Linked DNA regions of Homo sapiens: region 1 is linked to region 2. The links are contacts of gene promoters, found by promoter capture Hi-C in blood cells and fetal thymus (Javierre and others, 2016). All regions are on one chromosome and are shown on one strand. The core of a region is centred on a gene start or on the middle of the fragment in contact, and the rest is flanking DNA. Distances in the headings are between cores, read along the strand shown.

Region 1 (5,596 bases), core at 1,653-4,152, 540 kb after region 2:
GTCTAGATCTCCTGACCTCGTGATCTGCCCACCTCGGCCTCCCAAAGTGCTGGGATTACAGGCATGAGCCACCGCGCCCAGCCCTAACATCAAATTTTAAAAGAGTTGGCCACAGTTTAATGACATCCCTGCACACCAGCCTCCACCCATACTGCCCTTCATAAGCCCCTTAAAGGAGATCCCATAGTTCTAAACCGGGTCCACAAACACAGATATCCTCATTCTCTCCTTTTCTTCTCTTTGGCAGTTTGACAAAATCTTTAGGGGGAATTGGAGGAAACATTAATTTCCTAAATCAACTTCATTCAAAGCTTTGGCTTCAAGTTCTACCCGTTAAGGCCTCAGGAAGTTCATTGTCGACATTGAACTCAGTCACTAAAATGACCTCAAGGCTAAGGGATAGACCACAGCTCCACTTCACAAGTAAGCTTGCAACACCTGATTTAGGAAAGTTTGCTGTGCAGACAGTTGTAGCTCATCCATTTTACAGACCGATCTCGATTTGTTTCCTAGGGTCTAAAATTATTTAAATCAAAATCTCTCAGAAATTTCTGGACATTTAATAAATTCATGCTGGAGGAGAACTGGCAGAGATATGTTAAATGCACTTGACCACAAGAACCATTTATTTCATCCAATATTTACCAGCTATTCATTGTACACTTACTACAGATTTTGGCACTGGAGATATTATAAGAAAGCTCTAACCCTGACTTATGGAACTTATCCCAAAAAATAGGAAACAAGGCTCAGAACCATTCAAATGAAGCTTCAGTTAACTCAAATAAAAATTAGTTTTATAAATTTAATGTGAAAGTCTTCGAGTATATTAAGAATGGCTTGATTAACCCCAGGGATGGAAATTTTACTGATTGAAAGAAAGTTTCAATAAAATACCGATCTTTGAATCTAATCTGACACCTGAAACTAGGAAATCAAACACTAGCCATATTTTTTCTTCTATTCTTTATAATAATTTTTCTCATGAGAAAAAGGTATCTTTCTTCCAAGCCTGAAAATAAATGGAGAATTTTTAATATCTATTGATGTGGAGAAAAATAAATAGACTATCTGCTTTCACAAATAAGTGCTGGCATTGAGCCACAGAACATGTCTGTCATATTGCTCTTTCACACCATACATTAACAGGAATAATAATTTCTCCTCATTGAGTTTCCTATTTACTATCCCCTTAATTATACCTCCTTTAATTACTGTCATAGAGTGTCTGAATTTTATAATCCAAGATACTAAGATGTTTATTTGATATACCACCAGACTCAATGTCTTGTATTCTATGCCAAAAATTTGAAAATGTTTGGGAAGAGGAAATTCCGTGGTTTGGTGAACCCAGAAAGTCTTCAGTACATCTCAGTTATAGAACTGTATTAAATACATTTAAACTCTATAATTCCATAAGACCCATTTTAGGTTTATACACTAAGCATCTAATTCCTCACTATCCTCTCATACAAACCCTGTGTAATACAAGTTCTACTCCCATAATTCTATGAACAAAACAACAATTGATACATAGATTTGATTTTTAAAATACATTTTCTTTACCTTATTCTAAATGTAACATAGGGTCAACATAGAAAAAGAAAACTGAAAAGCACAAGGAAAGTGAAATATCTATAATCTTAACCATTGTTAATTTTGTTGTGTTCCAAATTAGTGTATGTATATATATATATATATATATAGCATTTTTGTTTTAATAAAAGGACTGCCAAAATGCACATGCCAATTTGGACTCTGCTTTTTCCACTTACAATGATATCATAGTTTCTCACATTTGGTATTCTTTTGCAATACTTGCTGCATAGAATTCCATCACACAAAGGTAACTGCCTCCTTATTACTTTTGCTAGACACTTAGGGTTTACATTTTTTACAAAAATTATAAATCTTTGATCACAGCTCTGATGATTTCTCTGGGAACTGAGAGCCTAACACAAGTCATTTCCACTTTAAGACTTTTAACATTCTGAAAAGTTATGTTACAAACAGAGTGCTGGTCCCCCTGCAACATGTTCACTCACATTGGCTGACGTTTTAATTCTTTGCCAATCTGAGGGGAAGAGATGTCAACTTTTTTTGTTTGCTCTTTTAATGCCAGTCATGTTCCCTTTTTTTTTCCCCCTTTTACCAGTCATACTGGCTTACTCAGAACCCTACAAATCAATCCTGCTCATTCTTAATTTTCCAACATTGTTCCTGAGATTGTTTCACCAGAAAAGTTCTCCCCCTTATCCACTTCGCCTAACAATTTCTACCCATCCCAATCCTCCTGCATTTATTGCTTCCAGGAATTTGGCACTTAGGACACCCTTGTCCTTACATTGTTCATGCATGTATATTTCGTCTTCAATAAAACATTTAGTTGCTCAAGGGCAAGGGTCCCATAGAGTCTCAATATGCTAACGGCCTGGTGTTGCTTAATAATTTAGATTCTGACGGGTCCTCTCCAGGGAGGGGAGCAAAGGGCAAATTATCTTAGGGGCTGGGAGTGCAGAAGCCAAACCTTTGAGACTGTGAAAAGAAGACGGCGCCGAGACGATTCAGTAGCAGGCATTCAAGCAAGAAAAACTCAAATATTGTTCCCAATAATGCCTGACTAATGCCAAATACCAAGTAAGGGCCCAGGCAGTCCTGACAGCCTGCAGTGCCCCAGGATAAAACTAACCCTGAGGGGTGCTAGCCCACGATAACCCCCTGCCAGGGCTCTGGACACGCCCTGTCTCCTCGAAGGCCAACGGGCTGCCCCTGCGCGCCGAGGCCCCGCCCCGCGGCCCGCCGATTGGCCCCAGCCGCCCCGGCGCTAAGACTCAATTTCACACTACGCGCCCAGGCCACGCCCACCTGTCATGCGGCCCTGGAAACTGTGAGTTTGGGGATTGTTGTGTCCACTAACCGGACTCAGAAGGGACTTCCCTGCTCGGCTGGCTTTCGGTTTCTCTGCTCACCTCCGGATAAATCACGGGGTCTCCCGCGCCGCTCATGGCGCCTCCCGTCCGTCTCGAGCGTCCCTTTCCTTCCCGGCGCTTTCCTGGGTTGCTTCTGGCGGCCCTGGTGTTGCTGCTGTCCTCCTTCTCCGGTAGGACCCCGGGGTGGATTCGCGCGTCCGCGGCGAGGCTAGAGCTCTGCTCAGTCAGTCGGGCAGGAGGCGCGGGGCGAAGCTCACTGCACGTCGTGCCTGCTTGGGATAGAGAGCGAGGCCAGGGTTCTCCGAGGGGTGCCGTGCTCAGATCCCGGGGGTATGTGGCGGGGGATGCGGGAACCACGCAGAAGCTTGTTTGGTGGCATCGTGTGCGCGGCCGACATTTACGCAGGATCTGGCTGCGTTCCCAAAAGAAGCGTGAATCGTGTTTTCGGGATTGAGCCCAGTCAGCAAGGGGAGGGCTTACTGGGCGCCCCAGGTGAGGGCTTGCTCTGGAGTGCACAGGTGCGTGGGATTGTTGCTAGAGCCCGTGCTGTGCCCGTGGTGAGAGTTTGCCCTGTGTTCCCTTGGTGCCTTGGTGAGTAGGGTGTTCATTAGGGCTTGGACAGTACCCGCGGTAAGGGTTGCAGTGCGTCTGCTGTGCCCCATGGGCTGGGCTGGCCTGGGCTGGGCTGGGCGAGCAGGGGCCTGGCCAGGTGTTGCTGGGAGCGTGCTGTGCGCAAGTGGCCTGTGTGCGGAGTTCACTGTGGGCAAGACAGCTCACTGTTTGCTTTGAGTGGAGCGAGCGCGGACTCTGCGGCTAGGGAGGGCATGTTGAGTGAGAGCAGGCTCTCAGTGCCTGGGGTTAGAGAGGTGGTAAGGGCGCACCATGCTTTTAGTGCCTTCTGTGAACAGTGTCCGTGTTGCCTGAGATCGTATTGGTCTTGAATTTTAAGTGGCTGCTTTTTTGGGGGGTGGGTGGGCCATCGAGTCATCTTCCTGTTCCCAACCAATATAGACAGTATCTGATTCCATTGCCTAGTGGCTTTTTGACATTGTTTTCCTTCTTTTCATTAGTTTGAGTCATATTTGAGAGATGTGAAGCAACCTAAAAAACACTGGTAGCCAAACCTAGTGAGAAATTAGTATCCTAACAAAGGAAGGCAGATAATGTTAATCTTGTTTTCCCCTACAGCTCATAAACTGAAGCTTAAGGCCTATCCCACTGTTTTGTATTTCATTGAATGGAATCAATATTTTTAAAAATGCATGCTAGGCCAGGCCCAGTTGCTCACACCTGTGATCCCAGCACTTTGGGAGGCCCAAGTTGGGTGATTGCTTAAGCCCAGGAGTTCAAGATCAGCCTGGACAACATGTCAAAACCCCATGTCTACAAAAAATAAAAAAATTAGATGGGCATGGTGGTGTATGCCCGTGGTCCCAACTACTCCAGAGGCTGAGGTGGGAGGATCGCTTGAGCCCAGGAGGAGAAGACTGCAGTGAGCTGTGATCATGCCACTGCACTCCAGCCTGGATGACAGTGTGAGACCCTGTCTCAAAAAAAAAAAAAAAAAAAAAAAAAGCCAAAAAATACATGCTTAAATACAGGCTTATTGTGCAAAATGAACAAAATAAAAGGACAACTGTTTTTAATATTTTGTTATATTTCCTTCTGACTTTATTGTGTTTCATGTGTATCTATGTCCAAATTATATTTAGGATCTTATTCCATGTACAGATTGTACGTTGCATTTCTTCTCTTAGGAACATTCATTCAACAAATATGGGTCTTGTATGTCTGGTGCTGTTACACTAGTAGGTAATAACAGACAATTCCTATTTTCTTTATCCTTTTTTTACTATTTGTTTACACACACGTACATGCAGGAAGATAAGCAGGGACTTTTTTTGCTCATTGTTAAGTGCTTAATGCCGGGAACACAGTAGGCAATCAACAGATGTTTGCTAAAATGTATTGGGAGTGGCAGACATTAACCAAAACATAATAGTAACAAATATATTAACCAGGGAAGTGTTCTGGAGGAAAGGAGTATAATTTTCTGACAGCATTTAACAAATGACTGGGGGGAGGGAAGGCTTTGCTTCTCATCAAACAGACAAAACTCTGCCACTTTGGGGCATCTGTGCTTTCTGTTCCCTCAGTCCTGGAACGTTCTCCCCATGACCTGCTGCATAAATGGGCTGTTTCTTCTGCAAGCTCAGCTGGAATGTTACCGCTTCAGAGACCTTCTTGGAACCCCCCAACTCAGGTTGAACACATACAACCCAGTTCAAGTACCTCTTGTAATCACCCTTTTAAAGTGATCTTTTCTGTTCTCTGTCTCTCCCCATCAGAATGCAGGAATCTTCTGTCTTCCCCCATTTGTGGTTCCAAAAGCCCCATTTGTTTGCTTCTGTATGAACCCTAACTCAGTATCCATATAGACATCTGTTAAATATCAGAAAATTAAATATACTATTTGGCTGGGGCTTAGAGCCTAGGAAAAAGTCCCTCCTGCCTCCAAGAGGAAGGTTCTTTAAAGAGCTATGCTCAGGATGGTCTTTCTGTTGTACCTAAAAAGCTAGGGCAGCAGCAGCTGAGGGCCAGAAAGGATCTGTCTCCCCTGTTTATGTTGACTCTGCAGGGCTTCCAGTACTTCAGTCTTGCATCTC
Region 2 (5,933 bases), core at 734-3,233:
AACTTGTATCAAAACAACCTGTCAACTAATCAAACATTGAAGGGTGAGGGAGAGGAAGAGTTCAAAAGTGAATCTGAAATTTTATTCCCGAGAACCAGAGGTCAGAAAAAGCTGGGGTCAGAAAGTGAAGCTTGTTGGCCGGAAATGAGAAATTCCTCTTTGGATGTGCTGAGGGTGAAGTGCTTGCAAGATGTCCAGTGGGGGGAAAAAAAAAACAAAACCTAAGAAAGTAAGTCTTGAGTTTCGGAGAGTAATCAGAAATAATAATGTAGTGCTGGCTAGTCTTCTTACTGGTAATAGTTAAAGCTGTGACAGAAGGCAAGATCATTAAAATTGCGAAGATAATTTTTTTAAAAAAAGAAGAGCCTGAGATATATCTATATTTAGGAATGAGAAGGAGGAAGAGAAGGTAACAGTAACTAAGAAAGAGAAATTAGTTAAGTTAAGGGAATCAGGTAAGTTTAGTGTCATGGAAGCCAAAGGAGAAGAGAGTTTCAGAAAGGAAATGATCAGCAGTGACAAAGGCTGCAGACAGATCCTAAGAAATGAATTAAAGATATTTTGGACTTGGACCTAAGGGCGTGCCTCAGAGAGACATGTCAGTAGAAGAGTGGTAGAAGCCAGATGGGAAAGCAACAGGTGGAGTGATGAATGAGAAAGAACAGGCAGGTAGAACAAGTCACACCTTTGAGAAGTTCAGCATCACACTAAAGAAGAAAGGTGGAATTTGAGGTATTGGCAAAATTGAAGGGACATTTCAGGATGAGAGATGCATTGAAAATGAGGCAGGAAAAGAAGAAACAATTCTCCTCGGAATGAGGAGTGAATAGGAGGGAAAATTTGACATTGATGAAGCTAAGGTAGAATGATTTTTAGTAAAGTAGGAGGTAAGAGCATCTGCTGAGAGGGAATGTGACAATTTGGTGACCTGGAGAGAAAAATCTGCAAGAGTCACTGTGGAAAGTAAACGAAAGGACTTCAATACATTGGAAAACGGTACTTTAAAGAAATAGCAGCTTTAAAGGTGATATTTCTTCCAATTTAGTCTCAAGACTGTGCAATCTGGAATCCTCCTCTATCTTCATTCTGGTCAAATCAGTGTCTCACCTTGGTGACCTAGCGCATGGTTTCTTTACATCTAATATCCTTACCACTTTTATCTAATAATTTCTACCTTTTATCCAAATCTCACATCTTCTGTAGAAACTTCCTTGATTAACTCAACCTGTTGTAGTTTAGTTCCTTTTCTGAAACTCTTCTGGGACTTTCAGTATTTATTACAGAAAAAGTGAAGTTCTCAGAAAGAATTGCCTTTTAATAGCAATCTTCTGAGCACACAAATCTTAACCTTGAGGATTAGTAGCTTAATTGGACTATGTAAGTGCTTGTGGTCTTTTTAGATCTATGCGAGAGGAAACATGGCCGGTCCTTCATTGCGTTCTTCTGAGCGCACTGGATAGATCAATTTTTGGAGGCCCTCTGGTGCCTGACATGTAGTAGCAGTTAACATTTGCTGAACTCCAAATACGTTCTAGATAACTCAGCACATAGTGGAAACCCAATGCATGTTTGATAAATTCCCCACCTTTTGTAATTCCTTGGGGTGGGATAGAGACGAGCTCTGGGCAAGAATATCAGTTTTCAAACTCCAGGAAAGCATACTGGACCTAGTGTCATGGAAAGTGGATCATTTTTGCGGAGGCTCTCTGAACCTCGCAGTATCCAAGGTTTCCAGGCTAGCTGGACTGTGTCTTGCCATAACCCTTATGTGTTTATGAAAAGAAAAAAGAATTCTGGCTTCAAATTCAAATTACCTTTCCACTTAGGGGAAATGGTTGGCAGAGGAGAAAATAAACGATTGCGACATGTTACGAAGAATGAGGACTAGCAAAGAGGAAGGAGCTTAGGTAAACAGTGCTGCTTTATTTCTGCTGTTAATCATTCATTGGGCCCGTCAAAAGTTTCTGCCCATCTATTTCCATCAACCGTCCTTGACCAGCCAACCACATGGCTGAAATTCAGGGACTCTTTGGTGGAGCAATTACCAGTCAACTTCAGGGTATTATGATAAACTCTGATCTGGGGAGGAACCAGGACTACATAGATCAAGGCAGTTTTCTTCTTTGAGAAACTATCCCAGATATCATCATAGAGTCTTCTGCTCTTCCTCAACTACCAAAGGTCGGTGGACTACTAAACCCTTGGGGAAGCTTGGAGGAAAGGCTGGTGGTTTGGCCCTTTAAGGAGTGCAGGATTAGAAGGATAAAACAGAGACAAAAGCTTGGAGGTGTTTTCAGCAGAAATCTTTTCAGGAGCACTGTATTAGGGGGATGTAAGACTTGAGACGTACTTTAAACCCTATCTGAACCTCAAGTTTTAAAAATTATAAATGGAGGAATAATATTGCATTCTAATAAAATAAGCTAAAGAAGAAGAGGTGTAAGGTGTTGCTCTTGTTACTGTATCTAAAAGACAGATGTGTTGGTTTGTTGATCTTTCACCACCTTCCCACATCAGAGTTGAGGCAAGGGGTCAATCAGACTTTTCAAAGGGTTCACAGGAAGCTTGCTTTTCTTAGTCTACATTCTGAAAACTGGGGCCATTTCTATTTTGAGATTTGATTAACCACTCCAAATCTCCTCCACCACTGACAGCAAAGATGTTTAGATTTGGTAATAAGGAGGACACTGGCCAGCCTCCAGTTGGTTTCTGAAGCTAGCAGTCTTAGTCGTCCTCATCTTCTTTACTTTCTGAATTTGACGATGCTGATAACCCTTCCTTCTTGAAATTCTCTTCTTCCTTGGTTGGCCAGGATACAGTACCATTCTGGTCCTCATTTTAATTCTTCAACCACTTGTCTCTTTGCTGATTCCTATTCTATCTCTAAATATGGTAACACCAAAAGAATAAAAAGTAGACTACAGAAGAGGCAGAAGCATCAAAGAAGGTTGGCATTAAGCTTAGAGATATGTTTGAATGTAGTATGAGCACAGAATAAAGGGGCTGATAGAAAAATAAAGAGATTTGGCCAGGTACGGTGGCTCACTCCTGTAATCCCAGCACTTTGGGAGGCCGAGGCTGGCGGATCACCTGAGGTCGGGAGTTCGAGACCAGCCTGACCAACATGGAGAACCCCTGTCTCTACTAAAATTACAAAATTAGCCAGGCATGGTGGCACATGTCTGTAATCCCAGCTACTTGGGAGGCTGAGGCAGGAGGATCATTTGAACCAGGGAGGCAGAGGTTGGGGTGAGCTGAGATCGTGCCATTGCACTCTAGTCTGGGCAACAAGAGTGAAACTCCACCTCAAAAAAAAAAAAAAAAGAAAAAAAAAAGAGATTCTAGGAAGGGTGGGGAAAGTGTGGGAGCCAGTTCTTTCTGGAGTTTGTAAGTGATATAATTGAGAGCCCAGGTATAAGGAAGAAGACACTCAGCCCGAGACTGGAGAAAAATACTATCCTTTCACAAGGTATCTGCATTTTAAAAGGGGGAAGTTAGACAAAATAAATATTAACTTAAAAAGTAACTTCTCATGGAAGGAGAAATTTGAGGACTAAAGATTTTTCCAGTGACTCTCAAATTGCACTGCATTGCTAAGTGCTGATATTATTTTTCACAAGGGACCCGCCATGCTGACTAAAGTTCTTGAGTTGGTTCCATTTCTGCAGGAATTTAAAAGGTGAAGTCCTTGAAATATGAAAGTTGGCTAGAGTAGTCTCAGCTTTTCAGTGAGCAGTTACAGAATTGCAGAATTTGTTCATCTAGGTTTAATGTCATTATTTTAGAGATGGAGGGAACTGATATCCAAGAAGCTGATATAGCTTCTTCAAGATCACAGACTTAGACTGTGGTATTGCTGGAACTCCAACTTGTGTCTTCTCAGCTCGCAAGTTCTAGCCTCCATTCCCATACTCTGTGGCCAGCTGGTTTCTGCTGAGGGACCACCAGGAGTAGTTATGGTGAACTGCAAATGCCGTAGTTGGAGAAGAGTTAGGATGCATCCTGATGGTTTGTTAGGGAAGTCTAGTCACTGTATTATCTCTCTTCAAAACTGACAAAGCATTTCACACACATTATTTCATTTGGTCCTCAGTGAGACAGTCATTCTCATTCTAAAGATAAAATTAAATTGACTTTCATTCCTTTTAGATTTATTATTGTTTATTCTGTCTTATTCCTTCCTCCGTGTAAGTTTTTTTTTTTTTTTTGAAACGGAGTCTCGCTTTGTTGCCCAGACTGGAGTGCGGTGGTGCAATCTCTGCTCACTGCAAGCTCCGTCTCCCGGGTTCACAGGCCATTCTCCTGCCTCAGCCTCCCGAGTAGCTGGGACTACAGGCGCCCGCCACCACGCCCAGCTAATTTTTTGTCTTTTTAGTAGAGACAGGGTTTCACCGTGTTAGCCAGGATGGTCTCGACTTCCTGACCTCGTGATCTGCCTGCCTTGGCCTCCCAAAGTGCTGGGATTACAGGCGTGAGCCACTGCACCCGGCCTCCTCTGTGTAAGTTTTAAGCTAGTTAAATTCTGGTGCTCAAATTAGGTCTTTCTAAAGGCAGTGAAAGAAATCTCTGCGAAATAAGGAGGAACTCTTTTCTCTTCCTCTGCATCTGCAAAAAAGCAGATGATAATCTGCGTGATAAAACTGACCTTGCAAATGTTTTTTTTTAACAAAGGAGTCACGGGGTTATATAGACCAATTACAATACCACGTTAGAGATGGAAAGTTGAATAAACACCTTCCTTGTCTTCAAGGAATTCACAATGTATTTCGGGAGGCAAAAGCAAATAGATAGTTAGGATACAAAACAATGCTACAATTAAGGTATTAGCCAAGTACTAGAAGAACAGAAAACACTGGCATTTCATGATGAAGTCAGGCAATGCTTCACCAAGGAGGTGACATTTGATCTGAATAGTGAGTAAAGGAATAGTGAGTAAAGGAGAAGTTGGAGGTAAGAGCATTAATGCATGGGAGACATTAACTGCAAATGCTTGCAGGTGTTTTTTAAAAAAATCCTGGCTTTGTATGGTGGCTCACGCCTATAATTCCAGCACTTTGGGAGGCCGAGGTGGGAGGTTCACTTGAGGCCAGGAGTTCAAGACCAGCTTGAGCAACATAGTGAGACCCCTGTCTTTACAAAAAATTAAAAAATTAGCTGGGTGTGATGGCACGCTCCTGTGGTCCCAGCTACTGGGGAGACTGAGGTGGGAGCATCATTCGAGTCCAGGAGGTTGAGGCTGCAGTGAGCTGTGATTGCACCACTTCACTCCAGCTTGGGTGACACAGAGTGAGACCCTGTCTCAAAAAAGAAATCCAGAATGTTTTTGGGGAAGGGTAAGTGCCTCCTTGAGACTGAAGCATGGTGTTCTAAGTGAGAAATGATGGGAAAACTGGGACAGATAGGGGAACCTATGGAAACTGGGAACCATGAATGTTTTTAAGCAGAGTAACAACACATAAATTGCTTTTTAGGGACATAATGGCATCAACATGGAAGCTGGCTTATAAATGTTTGAAGGCTTTTGCAGTGGTCTAGGGTGAGGGGAAGGGAATTATAGGAACCTAAACCTGGACTATGGAAGTGGAGTGTTGGAGAGAGTGGCAGATTCTGGTGCAGCTGCTATGACCAACTTGATAGGACTTGACGACTCTGAATAGTGCAAGGAGGTGAGACAGAGGAGGCAATAATGACTTGGATTTCTAGTCTGGGAGGCTGGGTGGAGATTGTCACCTTCACTGAGACAGAAAGCACAGATATTAAGTAGTGTTGGAGGAACATAGTGAATTTAGTTTGAAACATGTTAAATTCAAGGTGCCTGGGAGATACAAATGAAGTGATTGGAAATATTGATTTGAACCTTGGGAATTTTAACTTAAATTATTATTATTATTATTATTTGCTTAAATGAGAAATCTAACAGAGTCAAAAAGTTT

What was found. The method cuts DNA at HindIII sites, captures the fragments that hold promoters and counts their contacts. A CHiCAGO score of 5 or more calls a contact.
Region 1: a contact is called between the fragment with the promoter of CR1L here and the fragment with the promoter of C4BPA in region 2, in 16 of 17 cell types (total CD4 T cells, M2 macrophages, erythroblasts and 13 more). The highest score is 16.4, in total CD4 T cells.

Annotation. Positions count from the first base shown.
Region 1 is chr1:207,642,231-207,647,826 of GRCh38, forward strand. CR1L (complement C3b/C4b receptor 1 like) reads left to right here and starts at 2,903. Exons shown (of 12, transcript NM_175710.2): 1 at 2,903-3,100. The coding sequence starts at 3,004. It also overlaps the pseudogene CD46P1. RefSeq lists a silencer at 2,703-2,872 and an enhancer at 2,933-3,012. The HindIII fragment of the contact is 2,525 bases long and covers 768-3,292 here.
Region 2 is chr1:207,102,250-207,108,182 of GRCh38, forward strand. C4BPA (complement component 4 binding protein alpha) reads left to right here and starts at 1,984. Exons shown (of 12, transcript NM_000715.4): 1 at 1,984-2,181. The HindIII fragment of the contact is 2,080 bases long and covers 129-2,208 here.